Regions from separate parts of the Homo sapiens genome. Here regions 1, 2 and 4 are each linked to region 3. The links are contacts of gene promoters, found by promoter capture Hi-C in blood cells and fetal thymus (Javierre and others, 2016). All regions are on one chromosome and are shown on one strand. The core of a region is centred on a gene start or on the middle of the fragment in contact, and the rest is flanking DNA. Distances in the headings are between cores, read along the strand shown. Region 1 overlaps COL4A2 (collagen type IV alpha 2 chain). Region 2 overlaps RAB20 (RAB20, member RAS oncogene family). Region 3 holds the start of PRECSIT (p53 regulated carcinoma associated Stat3 activating long intergenic non-protein coding transcript). Region 4 holds the start of LOC101060553 (a long non-coding RNA gene).

Region 1 (4,768 bases), core at 1,001-3,500, 420 kb before region 3:
CTTCATCCAATGCTGATCAAAACGCAGGACAGAACAGGGCCATGGGCAGTGCCTCCAGGAGCCCCTGAGATGTCTGTCTGGGGAGGCGTGGAGCCGTGAATGGGGATATTTTGAAATCCATGCTCAGCTTCCATGATGCCCGTAACTACGAAGCTGGCATTTCCTGCCTCATCCATGGCGCACACCTGGCTACCAAACCTGAGACCCACTAAAAAGAGCCATGAGCCCACTTTGACTTGACTCATTATTAATAATTTTGGTAAAAAGGAAATATGCTGTTTGAGATTTTAAGAACATAATTTTTAAGTTAATGCTGGCGATGTTTCTTTTGCATTTTTTAAAAATGTTGCTGACTGAGAACCCAACTCTCACCAACCCCTCCCTTCTCACCGTACTATATTCCTGGAATTCACACTGCAAAGGCGGGTGCTTTCAAAATTCACTTTTTCCCACAAGCGGATTCAGAAATGCGGAGGTTGCCTGCCGCCTTTTCTACCGGACAACATTCCCGAGTTATTGGTGAGCTGGAATGTGACTGACTTGCATTCCAGGGTTTCTTAAAGTCAAAGGTTGACTAACCAGCAGATTCCCTCAGGGAAAAGAGGCAGTAAATGTATCTTTTTCAAGGTAACATTGCATGAACTTGTCAAAAGACAAAAAGGATAGAGGGGTTTGTATTAAAAGAAATGATTCCAAGGTACCTAGAAATAAAAGTAATCTTGCTATTCTTCCAAACAAGTGAGAAGGTCTGTGGCTTTCAATTTTGTGTCTTTTTATGGAATCAACAATGGCTAACAGGAGTGTAGGTCACACTGTGTGCCAGGCGATGCTCCAAGTTGTCCTAGTTGTACTTTTCAGTGTGTTTACCCCTCTGGGTGACCCTGTGAGGTGGAGATGGACTTGGCTGCTTTTACTGAGGGAGAGATGGAAGCGCAGGGCGTTGAGTTCCTTGCCCAGGGTTGCCTTTAAGTGGAGGAGCCAGGTTCAGGCCCAGGGCCTCTGGCTGCGGAGCGCAGCCCCCTGCACACTCGGCACGAAGCTGCCCGAGCAGGAGACGCCATACACGGAAGTCAGGCCTTCTGTCCCTTGCACGTGGGACTTCAGTGTGACGCCCAGCAAAGCCCTCTCCTTATTTTAAGGAACTTCGTAAGACGACATGCAGAGTGAAAGCTTTCCTAGAAATTCCTAATGCCTACATGATAAAAAGTCCTATTTTCTTCTCATTCTTCTCATCTTTCCCAATTATAGTCTAGAAAAAAGTGTGTTCTACAGTAAAGCGTTGCTATTTACACAGCAAAGGAACATAGCCATGCCACTTTGTCTTTGTTTGTTCAGGGGTGAAAGTTTTTAAAAGCCAAATTTTGTTATGCATCCAGCAGACAGGGATGAGAAGAGCCTAATAGGGTTAAAGCTGGGGCTGAGGGGCAGAGTGGGGTGCAGGGAAGTGAGGCCTCCTCGCTCCCAGGCCACCAGCAGAATTGGCAACCACATTAGTTCCTTCTTTATTCGAGCTTTGGACTCACCTACTTCCTCACCCGGTTTTCACTAATCCTGTTCCCCTGCTGGAGAATGAGCCCCTTAAAAAGAGAGACCACCCCATGTATTAATCATCTTAACTCCTCATCAGGCCGCATACAGCATATGGAGCATTTGGTAAATATGTAGTCAATGAAAAAGTGAACGCCAGCTGCGATCCGTAGACCACGGTCTTGTTCTTACTGTGGGACTTGTTTCCCTTCCAGGTGCCAGAGGTGACCCGGGATTCCCAGGGGCCCAAGGGGAGCCAGGAAGCCAGGGTGAGCCAGGAGACCCGGGCCTCCCAGGTCCCCCTGGCCTCTCCATCGGAGATGGAGGTAATGTGGCTTCATAATATCAACACCGGAGACCCAAAGCACCTGCACTCAGGTCCTAGCACACACAAGGGAGACTTCGTTGACGACGTAGCTATGTCGTTGTTACTTTTCCCCACTGACTAGTCTTAGCAGCTCTAAGGAGCCCCGCACACATGCTTTGGACACCTTCACAGAACCCTCGCACATATGACAGTAACTCCCCAACTAGGTTAGATGGTGCCACGATGGGTAACTGGCATGCTTCCACCTGTGGGTTGGGAAGAGAACGGAGAATCATCAGGTGTTGTTGCCCAGTGTTGATCACAACTATCAAGCCATTATTTGAGGGGCAAGGAGAGGGGTGTTTTTAATGTTGAAAAAGGATAATGAACTATACCAATGGCTTCTACCCATCGGAGTTATTGACGGGGCCATGAAGCCCGCTAGTGCCCCAGTGGGCCCCTCTGGACACGAACACAAAGGCAGCGGTGTGGTATGGGAGACTCACGCTGCAGGTGAATGCTGTTTGGTTTCAGATCAGAGGAGAGGCCTGCCGGGTGAGATGGGACCCAAGGGCTTCATCGGAGACCCCGGCATCCCTGCGCTCTACGGGGGCCCACCTGGACCTGATGGAAAGCGAGGGCCTCCAGGACCCCCCGGGCTCCCTGGACCACCTGGACCTGATGGTGAGTGGAGGGAAACAAAAGGGAGGGTGTAGCCTAATGTTCAGATGAAGCCCGGTCCCAGCCGGATGTTATTTGGGATTCTCTGCTAAATGACTCTGGGAACGAATCCAGTAGGCCAGTGATTAGGGTGCAGTGGATCCAGGTAGATTAGGGTGTAGTGGGTGCTCTCTGGGGTCCACGCAGGAGCTGGGGATGGAAGCTGAAGCCCTGTAAGCCTGTGAGTATCACAGCCCCGTGGATGCCACACAGTGAGGTTTAGTTGCTGCAGCTTCGGTGAAATCCATCCTTCAGCGAAACATCTGAGCTGCGCAGTCTGGAAACAGATGTGAGCTGACATTGCTGCCTCTGTGTCGGGGTGATACATTCCACAAACCTAATCCAGGGTGAGGGCTCACCCTTGACTGGCAGCCTCTCTCCTGTGTTACTCCATCACGTTTAAGCCACCTTGATAATCTGCCTTCTCAGCCCGTGCACAGCCAAAGCTACAACTGAACAGGTGAGAGTAGCTGGTGACAAAAAGAGATGGCTGCATTATCTGCAAAAATAAGTGACAGCCGTCCCCCAAGGCCCAGACAAATGCCCATGAAAGTCAATAAAGCCGGCAGGCACAGGAGTGTGGACCCACCTGCCACCCAGTAGTGCATCCCTGAGTCAGCAAAGATGCTCTTTCAGGTTATAACGTTAGGTGACTCAACTTGAGTTGAGAATGACCTGTCTCAGGCAGCAGGGAAACATGCAGTCCCGCCTGGAGCTTGCTGTCAGAAAAGGCTGTTCTTTCAGCTTCAGCATTCAGAGAGTTATGCTTTAAAGACCAAGCTTGTCCAACCCACGGGCCACATGCGGCCCAGGACGGCTTCAAATACAGCCCAACAAAATTCATAAGCTTTTTAAAAACATTTTTACAATTTTTTGTAGCTAATCAGCTGTATTAGTTCGTTCTCACGCTGCTATAAGAACATACCCAAGACTGGGTAACTTATTAAAGGAAAGAGGTTTAATTGACTCACAGTTCTGCAGGGCTTGGGAGGCCTCGGGAAATTTACAATCATGGCAGAAGGGGAAGCAAACATGTCCTTCTTCGTGGCATCAGGAAGGAGAAGTAAGGAGTGAAGAGGGGAAAAGCCCCTTATAAAACTATCAGATCTCATGAGAAACTCACTCACTATCGTGAGAACAGCATGGTGGAAACTGCCTCCATGATTCCATTACCTCCTGTGAACCAGGTCCCCACCATGACATCTGGGGATTATGGGAACTACAACTCAAGATGAGATTTCAGTGGGGACACAAAACCTAACCGTATCACCAGCTAACATTAGTGTTAGTGTATTTTATGTGTGGCCCAAGACAATTCTTCTTCCAATGTGGCCCAGAGAAGGCAAAAAATTGGACACTCCTGCTTTCGATGTTGTGAAATGCCTAATAGGAATATTTCATTCTCTCACAAGAGTGAATATAGGAGACATTGGGAGAAAATAAGAGGTCATAGTCTCTTTCTGTGTGACGTTGACCAAAAGTTAACAGCCTCTTCTTTCCAAAGTAGTTTACTTTAAATTCCCTGACATTGCCCCTAATAATCTCTTACAGCCTCCTACCTTCGGGGAGGAAAAACACCATGTTTGCTAGTGGACAGTGTTTGGTTTCAGTAACAGGTCAAAGTCTCTGTTTTGTTTGTTTGTTTGTTTGTTTGTTTGTTTTGAGACGGAGTCTCGCCTGTCACCCAGGCTGGAGTGCAGTGGCATGACCTCGGCTCACTGCACGCTCCGCCTCCCGGGTTCGTTCCATTCTCCTGCCTCAGCCTCCCGAGTAGCTGGGACCCAGGCGCCCGCCACCGCGCAGCTGGGACCACAGGCGCCCGCCCTCACGCCCGGCTAATTTTTTGTATTTTTAATAGAGACGGGGTTTCACCATGTTATCCAGGATGGTCTCGATCTCCTGACCTCATGATCCGCCCGCCTCGGTCTCCCAAAGTGCTGGGATTACAGGCATGAGCCAACGCGCCCGGCCCAAAGTCTCTGTTTTAATTGTTTGTTTTTGGAAGATTACTTCTCTTTGACATATCTAGAAGGAAAATCATTAGAGTTATTAGAGGCAATGTCTTCTATTTAAAAGGTAGTAGTCACTTCTCTGTGTCTGTTTTATATTATAAAGTAAAATTTTAACTTAATATGCTTTCTACTTTCTCAATTTTTCTTCAATTAGAAAACCCACATATTCTCACATTATTCTGAAAATTTTTAGGTGCAGATA
Region 2 (4,917 bases), core at 2,309-4,808, 320 kb before region 3:
ACATGGAGAACCAGAGAGGAGTGCCACAGTGAGTGTGGAAACACAGGTAAAGCGCCTCACCGAGGGAAAGTGACGCACCACACACCCTCAAATCTCAAGTAGGTCTCTGATATGGTTTGGCTGTGTCTCCGTTCAAATCTCAACTTGAATTGTATCTCCCAGAATTCCCACGTGTTGTGGGAGGGACCCACAGGGAGGCAATTGAATCATGGGGGCATAGTCTTTCCCGTGCTACTCTTGTGGTAGTAAATAACTCTCATGAGATCTGATGGTTTTATCAGGGGTTTCTGCCTTTTGCCTCTTCCTCATTTTCTCTTGCCGCCACCATGTAAGAAGTGCCTTTTGCCTCCCACCATGATTCTGAGGTCTCCCCAGCCATGTGGAACTGTAAGTCCAATTAAACCTCTTTTTCTTCCCAGTCTCGGTTATGTCTTTATTAGCAGCATGAACACGGATTAACACAGTCTCCATTAAAAAATACCTAAGAGTGTAACTGGGTTGTTTGTAACGCAAGGGATAAATGTTTGAGGGATGGATACCCCATTTTCCACGATGCAATTATTATGCATTGCATGCCTATGTCAACACATTTCATGTACCCCATAAATATATACGCCTACTATGTACTCATAAAAATTTAAAAAGTATTAAATAAGTGTATTATGTCTCCCAAAATAGTGCCCATCCTAGCACCCCCTTCTCTTCCTCACAGCAAGTGTTAGAAATCGTATTGTGAATGCTCTTTGTCTGTGGTCGGTCTCCCCAACTGGACTGCGTATTCTGTCTACTGCCACTTGCCCACGCTTAGCAGAGCATCTGATTTATAGGCAGTCCTCCAAAAAGTGCTGAATAAATGAGCAAGTTCACACTCACTGAGTGTTCACTCTACACACATCAGGATATTAAAACTAGAAGGAGCTTGGAGATCCTTGTGCTGAGGTGGTGACTGAGGTGGACACATGGGCCCCCAGAGCTTGGGCAAGTCTAGAGAAGTGCATCAGTGCCACCTTGGGAAGATGATAAAATTCCTGCACTCCCCCTCAAAAAGAAGGAAATACAAAGCAACATATAAAAAGGGCACAATAGGAGTCTGTAAAATATGCCCTGTAATGTTAAGGACCTCTTTACAGTCCTTCGTTCTCTATTATTAAGCAATTAATGACTAGAGCCTTGCTGTGGGGGAAAATGCTGCATTTACTTCTGAGCTCTACATTCCTGTTTCATGATCTGACTCCACAGAAACACCGTGGATCCTGTAGTCTTCACCCAGAAGCCAGGACCAAGCATACAGCAAAGCAGATGAAAAGTCAATGTCCAACCAGAGCCATTCCAATCCATAATTCTGAAAGTGATTCCTTCACATAGCAGAGAAACCCCATGAGATAGGCACCAAAAAAAAAGCCTCAGCCATTTAATCCTTATCACCCTTTACAAAAGCTAAGGGAACCTATGATGTGCCAGGAGAAAGAAGATGACATTGCATTACTGAGAGTCGAGAACCATGCTGGGCTCCCTGCACATCTGTCATCTTATTTAAGCTTCATAACTGTCCCTGGAAATAAGGTTTATTACTACAGTTTTAAGAAGACATCACTGAGACTCAGAGACAGGATCATATCTTCATTTTGTTTTCTAAAAGTGTTCCAATTGATTCATCTAAAAAGAAAACCTGCTGATCCCAAATACAGCTGTGAGGGAAAGGTACAACCCTAAATTCACCTATTTGGGCAACATAAGTCATTTCAAGTTATGCCATGAGATGGTAGCGTCCCGAAAGGCAGTTCCAACCCACAAGGAAGCACAGTCACACATGAGTCTTCCATTTCTAAGTAGAAATGCCTCATTTTTTATTGATGCACTCAGCGGCTCTGCAGGCCACCCTTGGTCTGTGTGACAGGGCCACTAAGCGTGTGTCATGGCATGGTGCTGGGTGACACCCAGGCTCACAAATCTTAACTGACCTGGAGCATCTGTGAACAGTACAAGCTGAACTTCTGTTTTTTTTTGTTTTTTGGGTTTTTTGTTTGTTTGTTTGTTTGTTTGTTTGTTTTTGAGACAGGGTCTCACTCTGTTGCCCAGGCTGGAGTGCAGTGGTGCAGTCACAGCTCACTGCAGCTTCAAACTCCCAGACTCAAGTGATCCTCCCACCTCAGCCTCCCCAGTAGCTGAACCTACAGGTGTGCACCACCATGCCTGGCAATTTTTTTTCAATTCTTAGTAGAGACAGGGTCTCGCTATGTTGCCTTGGCTGGTACCTATCTTCTGACTTCAAGGGATCCTCCCGTCTGAGTCTCCCGAAGTGCTGGGATTACAGGCGTGAGTCACCACGCCTGGCCAAGCTGAACTTCTGTACCACAAACAATAGAAAGTGTTCCTCCTTCTCAAGGACTCATATGTCAGAAGCCTGGAATGCCGCCAGTCAAGGCCAGGAAGCTGACTGTTGCGCCAAATCACAGCGGTCTACACGGCGCCTCCTCTAACCAGACTGTCCTGAACTAGAGCAGCCAAGGTCAGGGAAGGGAACGGACCCCTGCCCCAAACACACTGAATCAGCTGGCTCTGCATAAATGAGAAAGCGCAGCTCAGACACGAGGCGCAACAAGCTTCCTATGTGAATGAAGTGCGCTTAATTCTACACGGGGAAAGCGTTAACAGGAATCTTAACACATTGATCTCGTTAGTGATGAGACAGGCCACAGGTTGAAACTGTTTTTCATTTACTATCGTTGGGTGCAGCAGGACTTTTCTAGTTCACAGGCACCCCATGCACGAAATAGAACGTAGCCCGATGTACATTTATTACCTTGTGTGAGTGAATGCATACTTGGAGCAATTCCTTTCCAGTTCCACTCTCACTTTAGGATCCAAGTCACTTCTACGAAGGACACAGCAGGCTGGTGAGATTAAGTGCATAAATCCTCGGACAGGTCTGCCCAGATCAGATCCCCACTCCACCACTCCTGGAAAATAACCTTGCTACCTGCTACGGTGCCAGAGAGGATTAAAGGAGCTAAAATGGGGAAGCGTTTTGCAGAGCCTCTGGCACATATTAAGTGTTGTGGAAGCATCGGCTATAATTTAAGGCCAAAGCTATAAGGCCAAAGTCTGTAGACTGGAACCTCAGTCTTGGGAAGCCTGCATGACCCCACAAGCTAATGCTAATCAGCCTACACAACAGTATTGCAAATAGGCCGTCCCATTTATTCTTTGTATCTAAACACTTACTTTAAAATATAGGTAAGCATTTCAGATATAACCTGGAGCAAAAAGTTTCCCATAGCAGGTATTCTATAACTGTGAAGCTACCACCAGAGCAACTCCTTATGCCGTCAAGGCTCTTAGTAATAAAATTGAGAATTTCCAAAATACAAATAGGAAACCTGGTCAACAGACTACAAAAATAAAAGACACTGTTATCCTCAAGGCAACTTCAGTTAGAATGCTACATCTTTTTGATCCAACAATTTTTCTTTTATGGATTAGAAAACACCATAATTCGGCCGGGCACGGTGGCTCACACCTGTCATTCCAGCACTTTGGGAGGCCCAGGTGGGCAGATCACTTGAGGTCATGAGTTCGAGACCAGCCTGGCCAACATGGTGAAACCCCAATTCTACAAAAAATACAAAAATTAGCCAGGTGTGGTGGTGTGCACCTGTAGTCCCAGCTTCTCGGGAGGCTGAGGCAGGAGAATTGCTTGAAGCTGGGAGGTGGAGGTTGCAGTGAGCCGAGATCACACCACTGTACTCCAGCCTGGGCAAGAGAATGAAACTGTCTCAAAAACAAAAATAAAAACAAAAAAAAACTCTTGTCATTCTGGAAATGTCCACAATTCAGTCTCACCTGCCTCCATCCTCATGAAGGCACCAGGGGAGCGCGGTGGGCTCACCTGATTTCTTGGTTAGGTCTGTTCTGTTCCTTTTTTATGCGGGGTCTGTCGGTGGGCACTGCTCCAATGTGAGGGGTCCAGGCTCCATCGTAGCCTCTTAACCAGCTCAGTGCCAGGAAGGGTGGACTTTGACAAAAACCCACCTCAAATCTGCACTCCCCAACCTGGAGTGCAACCTGTGGCAAGCTCCCTAGGCTCTCTGGGCCTCAGCTTCCTCATCTGCACCGAGAGGTGAGGATAACACCAAGCACACAAAGTGGATGCCGGAACAATGGACAATGCCAGAAGGCACTGAGTGTGATGTCTGGCACCCAGAAGCATGATAAATGCCTGCTGCTCTCACAGCCCAGGGCTCCAGCCAGGTAAGGGCTGGGTCCCTACAGAACCCAGAGGCCTGAACATGTGTGTGATGATTCCAAACTTCCCAGGCCAGTTTTTCATAGGACACTACCCTGACTTCCTTGCAGAACCCTAGCAGTAGGTAGCTGAGCTATTTCAGAGGCTTAAGACCAGTGTGCGGAGAGCGGTTAGGCCAGAGGGAGGAAAGACATCCGTTGCCATCAACATCTTGTGAGTCCACAAAACAAATCAGCAAATATTTACAAAATGCTTTGCTTGGAGCTACAAGCTTAGCTTGGTCTGTGTTAGAATATAAGCTACTAAAAGTTAAGTGTGTTGATTTGTATCAGCTTGGGTTAAGCAGGAAGGAATATTTCAGACAAAAGCTGAATTCTTGAATGCAGATTCATTTTGCCTGTGCCCTTTGGCATTTCCGAATTTCTAGCTTCTTCAGCCCTGAATCTGGAATCCAGGGAACTCACCACTGTGTCTTTTCATCCACGGTTCCTAGCTCATGATTCTTACAGCCATTGTTACAATCTATTGTTATAATGTTGGGTGCCTTAGGCCTCAGGAACAAAATCTTTCTCTCTGACCTTCTCCTGTCCTCCTTTCACCTGGCCCAGGCCGGACTCTAATCTGATTGTGGGTCATTAGACCCTCCTTCCAGAGAGGGTCCTGCCCCATAC
Region 3 (4,623 bases), core at 1,761-4,260:
GCAACCAGAAACCAAGAGGAGATTCCCCATATTCCCACTTTTCAGAGGCATCTTACGGTCATTCCTCCTCTTTACCACCAGCCTGGTTTGCTTTTGTCTCTACTTCTTGATCTGTCGACCTCAGATATTACCTCTCAGCCTTGATGATCAAAGGTGAGGATCTGGCTCACTCGTGCTGGTGCTGCCGGAGGGAGGCAGCCATGGCATTGGGTTTTGCTTTTCCAGGAGGCACTTGTGGCAGCGAGTGCCCATGTGTTTCCCCAGCATCCCTCTCTGCTTCATGGCAGAAGATCCCAGTGTCTGTCCCTCCCTAGTTCCTGGAGCCCTGGAAGCCACAGGCCGGGAGGACTGGAGGTGCATGGTGGGGTGTGGCAGAGATGCAGGGCCGTGGATCTGATGACACTGCAGCTTTCAGACTTGTTTTACCAGAGAGAAACAACTTCCATTTCATTCCCTGTGGTTTGAGGATTTTCTGTGATGTGCACCCTAATTTAACCCCAAATAAAGTAATGTCATTACAACTGTGTCTGTTGTTTTGTCTTCCGCACTCACTCCATGAGGGCACGGTACCCTGACTCTCCTCCGTGCCTCCTCTCGGCCACCACCAGGTGCTCTTGCCACTGCCACACTCCCCTCACCTGGTACCGGGTGACAGGCCACCCTTTTCTACAGAGACAACTGAGTTCTGTGCTTTGTCCATAGTTTAGTCCCAAAAAAACCCTAAGCTACACGTGCATTACTACAACTGCATGAACACTGGTCTCCTACCAAAGTCTGCAGAGGTGGAGCCCACAGCCTCCCCAGACAGGTGGGAAGCTTTGCCTCCTTCCCTGCATGCCCCACCCAGCTCATGAGGAGCTAGTTGGAGATTCTGGGTACCGCTGTGCACACCCAATGCACCGTTTACACACTCAAGTATTTGGACCGCAAATGGTACTTGTGTCTTTACTCAAACTGTTGCTATTATGGATGTTGCGGGGCAGTGGTGGAGGTGTTTGGCCAAAGAGTGACCATCATCTCAGTCTGACAGAGACTGTCCTAGTGTTAGCATTAAAAGTCCCATGTCCATAAAAACCCCTCAGTAGGCTGGGCACGGTGGCTCATGCCTGTAATCCCAGCACTTTGGGAGCTGAGGCAAGTGGATCACTTGAGGTCAGGAGTTCGAGACCAGCCTGGCCAACATGGTGAAACCCCATCTCTACTAAATATTGAAAAATTAGCCAGCATGGTGGTGGGTTCCTGTAATCCCTGCCACTCAGGGAGGCTGAGACAGGAGAATTGCTTGAACCTGGAAAGTGGAGGTTGTAGTGAGCTAAAATCACGCCATTGCACTCTAGCCTGGGTAACAGAGAGAGACGCTCTGTCTCAAAACAAAGAAACAAAAACAAACAAACCTTCAGTCCCAAGCAAATTGGGACAGTTGGTGACCCTGGTGGAGCACATGCTGTAAGATTATTTCCTAAACTATGAGTGGATAAGAATTGTTCTGAGTCTGTCCCTGTTCAGAGTCCTCATTCTTTTTCCTTTTCCTGTCAAAGCTAGTTTGATTCCTAGCAGGATTCTAGGTTAAACAACGGTTTCTTCTCAGACCTCTGGAATAGGTCCCATTGGCAGGCCACCCACATTGTCCTGAAAGTGTTCCTGACTGTCCACACGCATTAGTCCACAGGACGGAGCCACACAGCCAGGACGGAGCCGCACATCTGTTCTCCTCCACCTTTGGTCAATTCTATGCCCACCTGGTTCTTGGAAATGAACCAGGATATGTAACAAAATCCATTTTTTTCTCCTTAGGATGAAATGATGTTGAAGGAAAGAATGTTATTTGAGGACCTGCTGTCTGTCCTTTTGTTTAAAGTTGCCATTTCCAAGAACCTAATGACGACCTTAAGTGAGGAATTAGTGTGCTCATAAAAAAGTTTTAGACGTTTTACGCTTACAGGAAAATGGTGAGGATAATGCAGAGAGTTCTCATGCAACAGAAATTTCTACTATTATTCATGTCTTACATGAGATGGGCACACCCTGTCCCCGTGTCCGAGGACTGGACAAGCCCACTCTAGCGGTGCACAGCTGGGGCGTGCCCCTCGGCAGTGGGGTGACCTGGCCCTCTCGCCCAGTGATGTCCTCATGCTTTGTGTCACGTGAACCACAAAATCTGAGTGAAAACGAAAGTCCATGAATGTCCAGGGCAGCTACCAGACGTGCGCAAGTAAGTCTCATGAAACAAAAGCTTCCCTGGATGGGGACAAAACACACTTCCTTCCGCTTGTCACCATCCCTGGCTCCTTCAACTCGGTCCGTCTCCATGACGTGTTCCTCTGCTTCTCTTCCTCCGAATAAAAAGGAAACATGCCTCGTAAGGACAGCAGTGCCGGGCTGGAGCCGCCTCTCCCCATCAGCACTAATGGCGTGGTACCTCTCTGCCCGCCCTTCTCTCTCCTCACCTGTGTTTTCCTTTCTTCCCGAACCTCCTCTTGGCTGAGGCCTCATGGGAAAAATAGGGGCACTCGCCCCATGGGCCCCAGGGAAATGCCAGTACCCCGGGCCGGAGAGTAGCCGAGCCCCAGACTGAGTCGTTGCTCCATGGGCCACAAAAGCTGGTTCCCGCACAGCAGCCGCCCTGGGCCCCGGCAGACACGACAGAATGGGTTTCCTTACACAAACCGCGCTTGGCAGATGTTGCCTGAAAGACAGGAACTCCGAAATTCCAACAGAACGGCCAGCGGGTGGCTCTCTGCTCTGGCAGGCTGCAGGCTCTCAGGGACGCCATGTCTCCGGAAGGTCAGCGTCAAATGCTGGTGAGAACTCACTCACTCCTCACCTCCGTGACAGGCACGTGTGTTGGCTCCACCAGGGTGCAGAAGCCACACGAGCTGCTTTAACAGAAGACATTCATGTAAAGCACAGCTCTCGGGCCGTGGGGCTGTTAACCAGGAGGGTGCACAGTGCATGCACCGCCCAGGTTCCGGTCAGTTTTGCTCCCACAGTCATCACCCTGGAGGGCGTTTCATGTTGTTGCTGTGAGAATTTGCCGTTGCTTGAGTGAGTCATGCTGACGTGGCCCCTACTCCAGGGTTTCCAGTCTTTCTGCTCCTAGACTGACTCAGCGCTGGTCATTAGGTGCTGTCCATCAAGGGGAACTTGCCCTGGGCATGGAAAATGCTGACCAGCTCCCTGTTTTGGAAAATGACCTCATCCCCAGGCTGCCCACAGGAGGCGGAGCATGCCAATGCCGTTCCTTACTGGTGTGTATATTACTGTTTTTGTCCTTTTCATGCAGCCTGCGGAGTGTACCTCTATAGCTGTCATTTCACTCCTGTGTTTTCTCGGCCTTGGGCGAGGATCCCATGCTGCTGGTAATGAAAGCTGCCTGTTCCCTCGGTTGTTTTCACAGTCCCTCCTTTCTCTTCCAGAGAGAGGTTTTGTTTTGTTTTGTTTTGTTTGAGACAGGATCTCACTCTGTCACCTAGGCTGGAGTGCAGTGGCATGATCTTGGCTCCCTGCAACCCTGCCTCCCAGGCTCCCATCCTCCCTGCAACCCATCGTCCCACCTGTGAAGGGAAAATAAATCTTGGGCCCCCAAACTCAAGCCAAAGGGAAAAGTCAAGCTGGGAACTGGGTCATGCAAACCTGCCTCCCCTTTTGGTCCCTAAATAAGATGCTGCAAGATGAAAAACTGCACACCTCCCCTATATTTTGTCCACAAGGAAATTCCTAGTGAGCTCCGCAATCTTTACTGTAAGGTGTTTCTGTTAAGATTTCACCACAGCAATGCAAATCGATAGCTCATCTTTACAGGTGCAGTCAACCCCTGCCCGCCAGACACAAATGCAAACCTGATTGTTCCCCTGCCCCCTTTGTCTAAGTCATCTTGTGTAAAAATAATGCAGATTCAATGAGCCAAACGCATGACTATTTTTCTCTACCCGCCTCTTAGATGAAAATTGTGTACTTGTCATTATCTCACCCTTTCCCCTTTAAATTTGGAGCCCTCAAAATCATCTTCGGAGAAAGGTACAGACTGTCTCCCGAGTGTTCGTCCTTAACTTTGGCGAGTAAACCTCCTAAAATGATTGAGACTTGTCTTGTCATTTTTCTCAATTGATACACCTCAGTCTCCCAAGTAGCTGGGACTACAGGCATGCGCCACCAAGCCCAGCTAATTTTTGTATTTTTTGTAGAGACAGGGTCTCACGTTGTTGCCCAGGCTGGTCTTGAACCCCTGAGCTCAAACAACCTGCCCGCCCCGGCCTCCCAAAGTGCTGGGATTACAGGCGTGAGCCACTACGCCTAGCCAAGAGAATTTTAAAACCATTGAGGAAATAGTGCCATTGTTGTGAATCAGAGACTTGATGTGCTATTTCATGTAGTGGTTCCTGTCGTTTTGCTTGCAAAATTGGCTTCAATTATCTTGAATTATATGAACTGTCAGAAAAGCCCTGCGGCAGATGATGGTAACGAAAAGACATCCTTTAGCAGACAGGGAATAGGACTGATTCACTGATGCATCTGAGTTGCAATTTTTTTAGCTGCTTCTAAAAATCTTGTAATTAAATTCACTGGTGAGAGCACAGTAGCCTTCATAAATGGGAAAACAGAAACATCGAAGTTGTTCTCAAA
Region 4 (4,404 bases), core at 116-2,615, 280 kb after region 3:
TTTATGTTGCTTAATTATTTTAAGTCATTGCATTAGAATAGTAACTGCGCTCTCCATGAGCCTAGGCTAGAAAGAAGGGAAAAAATCCCAGGTTCTCTCCCAACGATCAGGGGTTACTCAAGCCGCCCGAGTTCTCTGGGGCCCCTCTGGGCCAGGCTGCGTCCACTTGGGAGAGGCCGAGGACCTGGCGCCAAGAGGCGGCGGTGTCTGCGCTAGGGGCCGAGCGGGTGCGCTGTGTCTGCGGGGCCAGGCCAAGGACCTGGAGCAGGGAGGAGGCCGAGCGCGGAGCCGGGCCTTGTCGGCTGCGTCCGCGGGGCTAGGGTAGAGACCGAAGACTGGACAGGAGGAGGCGGCGGTGGCCGCGCGCGGGGCCAACCGGTGGGCTCCCTCTACCGGACCGAGGCCCAGCACTGGGCCAGAGGAGGTGGCAGCTCGCCGGCAAAGCAGGGTGGGCTGCGTCCGCGGGGGCGAACACCCGACGCTATCCGAAGACGTCCCGCGCGGGCCGGCGGGGGCGCGGTCTGAGGACGTCACTTCCGGCGCCGGGGCTCACTTCCTGGTGCGGGAAGGGGCAGAGATTGGTGCAGCCCCGGAGGAAGAAAAAAGGGTGAGGAGAAGCAGCGGCTGAGCGGGTTGGCATCTGGGGCAGCGGGCTCGCTCCAGGCCGTCGGGGGCCGCTCGCCAGCGTCGCCCGCTGTGTTGGGAGCGCGGGCCGTGGGCGTCGCTCGGCCTTGTCCGCGGCGTCCCCGCTGCCGGCCACGGCGCTCAGCGCTTGTGCTCTGTATTGCAGGTCTACCCCGAGCCCCGGAGCGAGAGCGAGTGCCTGAGCAACATCCGCGAGTTCCTGCGCGGCTGCGGGGCTTCCCTGCGGCTGGAGGTGAGCGCGGGCGGCCACGGGCCGAGGGAGGGGCCGGGAAGACGGGGTTGGGCCCGGGGTGGGTGCTTCGCTCCAGCCGGACCTCCTGCCTCCTCCGCGCCCGGATCCGACCCTCCCCGGCTGCTCGAGAGTCCGGGATGTGTGGAACGGGGCGTTGCGGGTTTGGGTAATGGCCGGGAGGTGGCGGCGCGCGGGCCACCCCCAGGGCAGGGTGGAGTCTGCGTGTGGAACCCCAGACATTGCTCTCGTTCCAGTGAGGAAGAGTGGTTCTGGTCGCTGGTGGTGCAGGTGACACACATTTTCAACAACCGTTTATCAGGGGTGTGAACCGATTTCTTGGCACCTGCCTCAGCATGAACTCTGCTTTTAGAGATTGTCATCTAAGGGCTGGCATCTAGGTCTGGGTCAGGCCTTAGAATCCTCAGCAGGTGATCAGGCAAAGTCGTGCAGAAATAAAATGGGCCAGCCCTCCGCCTGCTTCTCCCAGCCGCACTCCTTTCTCTGCTTTTTCTTCCTGAGACCAGAAATTCGGTGGTTTTTCCGTACCCTCAACACTTAATGTCCAGAGAATTCACATTAACCAGTATGTGACGTTTATAAAACATGCTGTCGGGGAACATACTGGGCGGGGTCTCGATTCCCTGTTGTAAAATGTTGTGTCACTTTACTAAACATTGTCTTTTCAGTCTTTCAGTGGCAGTTTCTGGGAATTTAACTCTTTCATTTTATTTTGCTATTGCGATTCTTCCTACACTTGGGGTAGCACTTTAAATACAGAAATCTAGCTTTGCTTTTCTTGGGATCTGCTTAAGTGGTTGCAGTCAGTCCTGTACTTAAGTCCTGCCGTTTATGTTGCCACTTTGTCACTCTTAACCTTAGTTTTCTTATCTGTAAACTGAGATGGGCAATATCAAGCTCCCAGATAAGAGTACAGTCGGCCCTCCGTATCCAAGGTTACCCACCCGTGTATTCAGCCAACCTTGGATTGGAAATACTGGAGGAGGGGGAAACCAATTAAAAAAAAACAATAAAAAACAACACAGTATAATGATTATTTACATATCATTTATAATGTACTAGGTAGTGTATGAAACCTAGAGATGATTTAATGTTTACGGGACTATGCCATTTTATATAAAAGACTTGAGCATCTGAGGGTTTTGGTATCCACCGGGATCCTGGAACCAATTCCCTGCTGATAAAAAGGGACAACTGTATATGAAAGCATCTTTGTAGAACCTGTTATGTAGGATAACCCAACAGAGGTTTCCCTTCCCGAAGAATATTTTGCTATAGGTTTCTCGGAAAACCTAGAACATCAAATCTGTGAGGGCAGGTTACATGGAAAGTTTATTTAATTGAATTAGACATGTAGGAATTCATAGATTAAAGTATTACTGGCGTTGTTTATGATTGTAAACACAAAGAAATTTATTGTTGGTAGTATTTCATGTTGGCAAGGAAATTATTACACGTAAGTGAAAGTGCTAGGGGAGATTCCAAGAAACTTAGGGCCTTTTCAAAGGGGAAAAAGACAGTGTTTCAGTAGTCTTTCCCTGATACCCTTTGTCGTATCAGCTTTGTCATTTGTAATCCAGCTGCCTTATTGGCTGTGATAATATGCCTTGCTAGTGGCAGGTTTTACTTTTTCTTCACCTTTGTGAGGGATTTTATTATATTATCCTCTTGAAACTACTGAGTTTTGTTTACGTTAACATACTTTTGAAACTCAATTGGCACATTAAGATTATCTGACTTTAGTGTAAAACTTTTTAAAAAAGTTTTGTTTTAAAGTAAATTGAGGCTGGGTGTGGTGGCTCACGCCTGTAATCCCAGCACTTTGGGAGGCCGAGGCGGGTGGATCACATGAGGTCGGGAGTTCGAGACCAGCCTGGCCAACATGGTGAAACCCTGTCTATACTTAAACAAACCCAAAAACAAAAATTAGCCCGGCGTGGTGGCGTGCACCTGTAGTTCCAGTTACTCAGGTGGCTGAGACAGGAGAATCCCTTGAACCCCGGAGGCAGAGGTTGCAGTGAGCTGAGATTGCCACTGCACTCCAGCCTGGGTGACAGAGCAAGACTCCCTCAAAAAAAAAAAAAAAAAAAAAAGTAAATTGAATGTTAAAAACTTACCGTTTTTAGTTTTCCAAAGGTTGCTGACATTTCATACAGTAACTATTGTTTTTATAATTAAGAGTTTATTTGAAGGTTTTCTGGAAGAGAGTTTTCACTAACATATTCCAAGCATCTACAATAGTGCTTGGCACATAATAGGCTTTCAATAAATATTTGTTACTAATAGAATGAACTTGAGGTTGTAAGTGATAGCAAGTGAGTTTCATTTTAAAGTAAAAAATTAGTTTTGACTTATTTTGTGCTATTTTTAAAGAGTAAATATCTCTTCCAGTAAATTTAAGCAAGAGGCAAATGTTAGCATTCTTCAAGCTTAGTGTGAGTCACACTTGTAATTACCTAGGAGATAATAAAAATGAAAATATGAAAACAGCACATGAAAAACCTGATAAATTGTTCAGTCATTGTGTTTTTTGGGAAGTTACCCTGAGAAGTCATTTTGTATGCTATGCATCCAGCTCTGGCTTCCAGCCTTGTAAGGTGATGTGAAGGGACAGGGCTGGGCCCTGAAGGACTTGGTCATCTCCCATGCGGGCCACAGTGCAGCAATTTCCCAGTGTTTAAGAATTGCTTAGGGAGTCAGGAGGGAAGGGCCTTGCACTTGTGAAATATGTTGTGGGATTTACACATTTCATTTTCACAAAATTCTGAAAGGTGGGAAATTGATAAGAAATGTTTTGAAACTACAGACACAAAACTTAAAACTAATAGCTTAAATTCTAGATTAGCTTTTGTTCTATAGTTGTAAATGTCAAGGTGCTTTTCTTCCAGGGGTTAGTTTAGACTGAATTGTGTTTGTAACAGATTGTTTTTGGTGTATATATTCTTATTTACTGTCAGTTTAAGCTCTGCTAAGATTTGTTAAAGGGAAAAAGGAAGTAAACTTGGTTAATATGTCAGCTGTTTTGGTGCATGCCCTCCTTAATTACCTGTAGAAAATCAGATATTATCCCCCAATTGTTTTGATTATGAAAATATTTTTATAAATTGGTTTTAAAGGAATATTGTGTGAGTCGCATTTATTGGTAAACTTTGAGAAGCACTGGGTTTTAAGCTGGAAAACTTTGAAATTTGGAAAATTAAAAAAATTTAATTACTGTTGGAAAGCAGTGCAACTTGGATGACTTCATTTTCTTATAACTTTTTTACTTGGCATGCTTAAATTTTTTTTTTTTTTCCAGTTAGGGCAAAAAACCCCTAGGCACACAATTTCTATTTGTATCTCAAAAGCAACCAAAATAATAATTATTAATAAGAATAATGATGATGTTGGCTGGGTGCAGTGGCTCATGCCTGTAATCCTAGCGCTTTGGGAGGCTGAGGCGGGTAGATCACCTTAGGTCAGGAGTTTGAGACCAGCATGACCAACATGGTGAAACCCCATCTCTACTA

Evidence for each region. The method cuts DNA at HindIII sites, captures the fragments that hold promoters and counts their contacts. A CHiCAGO score of 5 or more calls a contact.
Region 1: a contact is called between a fragment that was not itself captured here and the fragment with the promoter of PRECSIT in region 3, in 1 of 17 cell types (naive B cells). The highest score is 8.6, in naive B cells.
Region 2: a contact is called between a fragment that was not itself captured here and the fragment with the promoter of PRECSIT in region 3, in 1 of 17 cell types (endothelial precursors). The highest score is 5.3, in endothelial precursors.
Region 4: a fragment that was not itself captured here is called in contact with the fragment with the promoter of PRECSIT in region 3 in 1 of 17 cell types (endothelial precursors); the score reaches 5.6 in endothelial precursors.

What each region holds. Positions count from the first base shown.
Region 1 is chr13:110,447,937-110,452,704 of GRCh38, forward strand. COL4A2 (collagen type IV alpha 2 chain) reads left to right here. Exons shown (of 48, transcript NM_001846.4): 19 at 1,743-1,853; 20 at 2,369-2,518. Among named protein-coding and RNA genes, the nearest start is that of COL4A2-AS2, 13 kb to the right of the region's middle. RefSeq lists an enhancer at 19-1,218. The HindIII fragment of the contact is 2,164 bases long and covers 1,169-3,332 here.
Region 2 is chr13:110,544,704-110,549,620 of GRCh38, forward strand. The region is part of intron 1 of RAB20 (RAB20, member RAS oncogene family); the gene reads right to left. Among named protein-coding and RNA genes, the nearest start is that of RAB20, 15 kb to the right of the region's middle. The HindIII fragment of the contact is 1,914 bases long and covers 2,602-4,515 here.
Region 3 is chr13:110,867,298-110,871,920 of GRCh38, forward strand. It overlaps PRECSIT (p53 regulated carcinoma associated Stat3 activating long intergenic non-protein coding transcript), which reads right to left and starts at 3,011. Exons shown (of 1, transcript NR_027701.1): 1 at 1-3,011. RefSeq lists enhancers at 2,068-2,754, 2,112-3,311. The HindIII fragment of the contact is 3,703 bases long and covers 2,232-4,623 here.
Region 4 is chr13:111,153,115-111,157,518 of GRCh38, forward strand. ARHGEF7 (Rho guanine nucleotide exchange factor 7) reads left to right here. Exons shown (of 22, transcript NM_001354046.2): 2 at 791-877. It overlaps LOC101060553 (a long non-coding RNA gene), which reads right to left and starts at 463. Exons shown (of 2, transcript NR_120398.1): 1 at 1-463. RefSeq lists a silencer at 594-953. The HindIII fragment of the contact is 3,914 bases long and covers 1-3,322 here.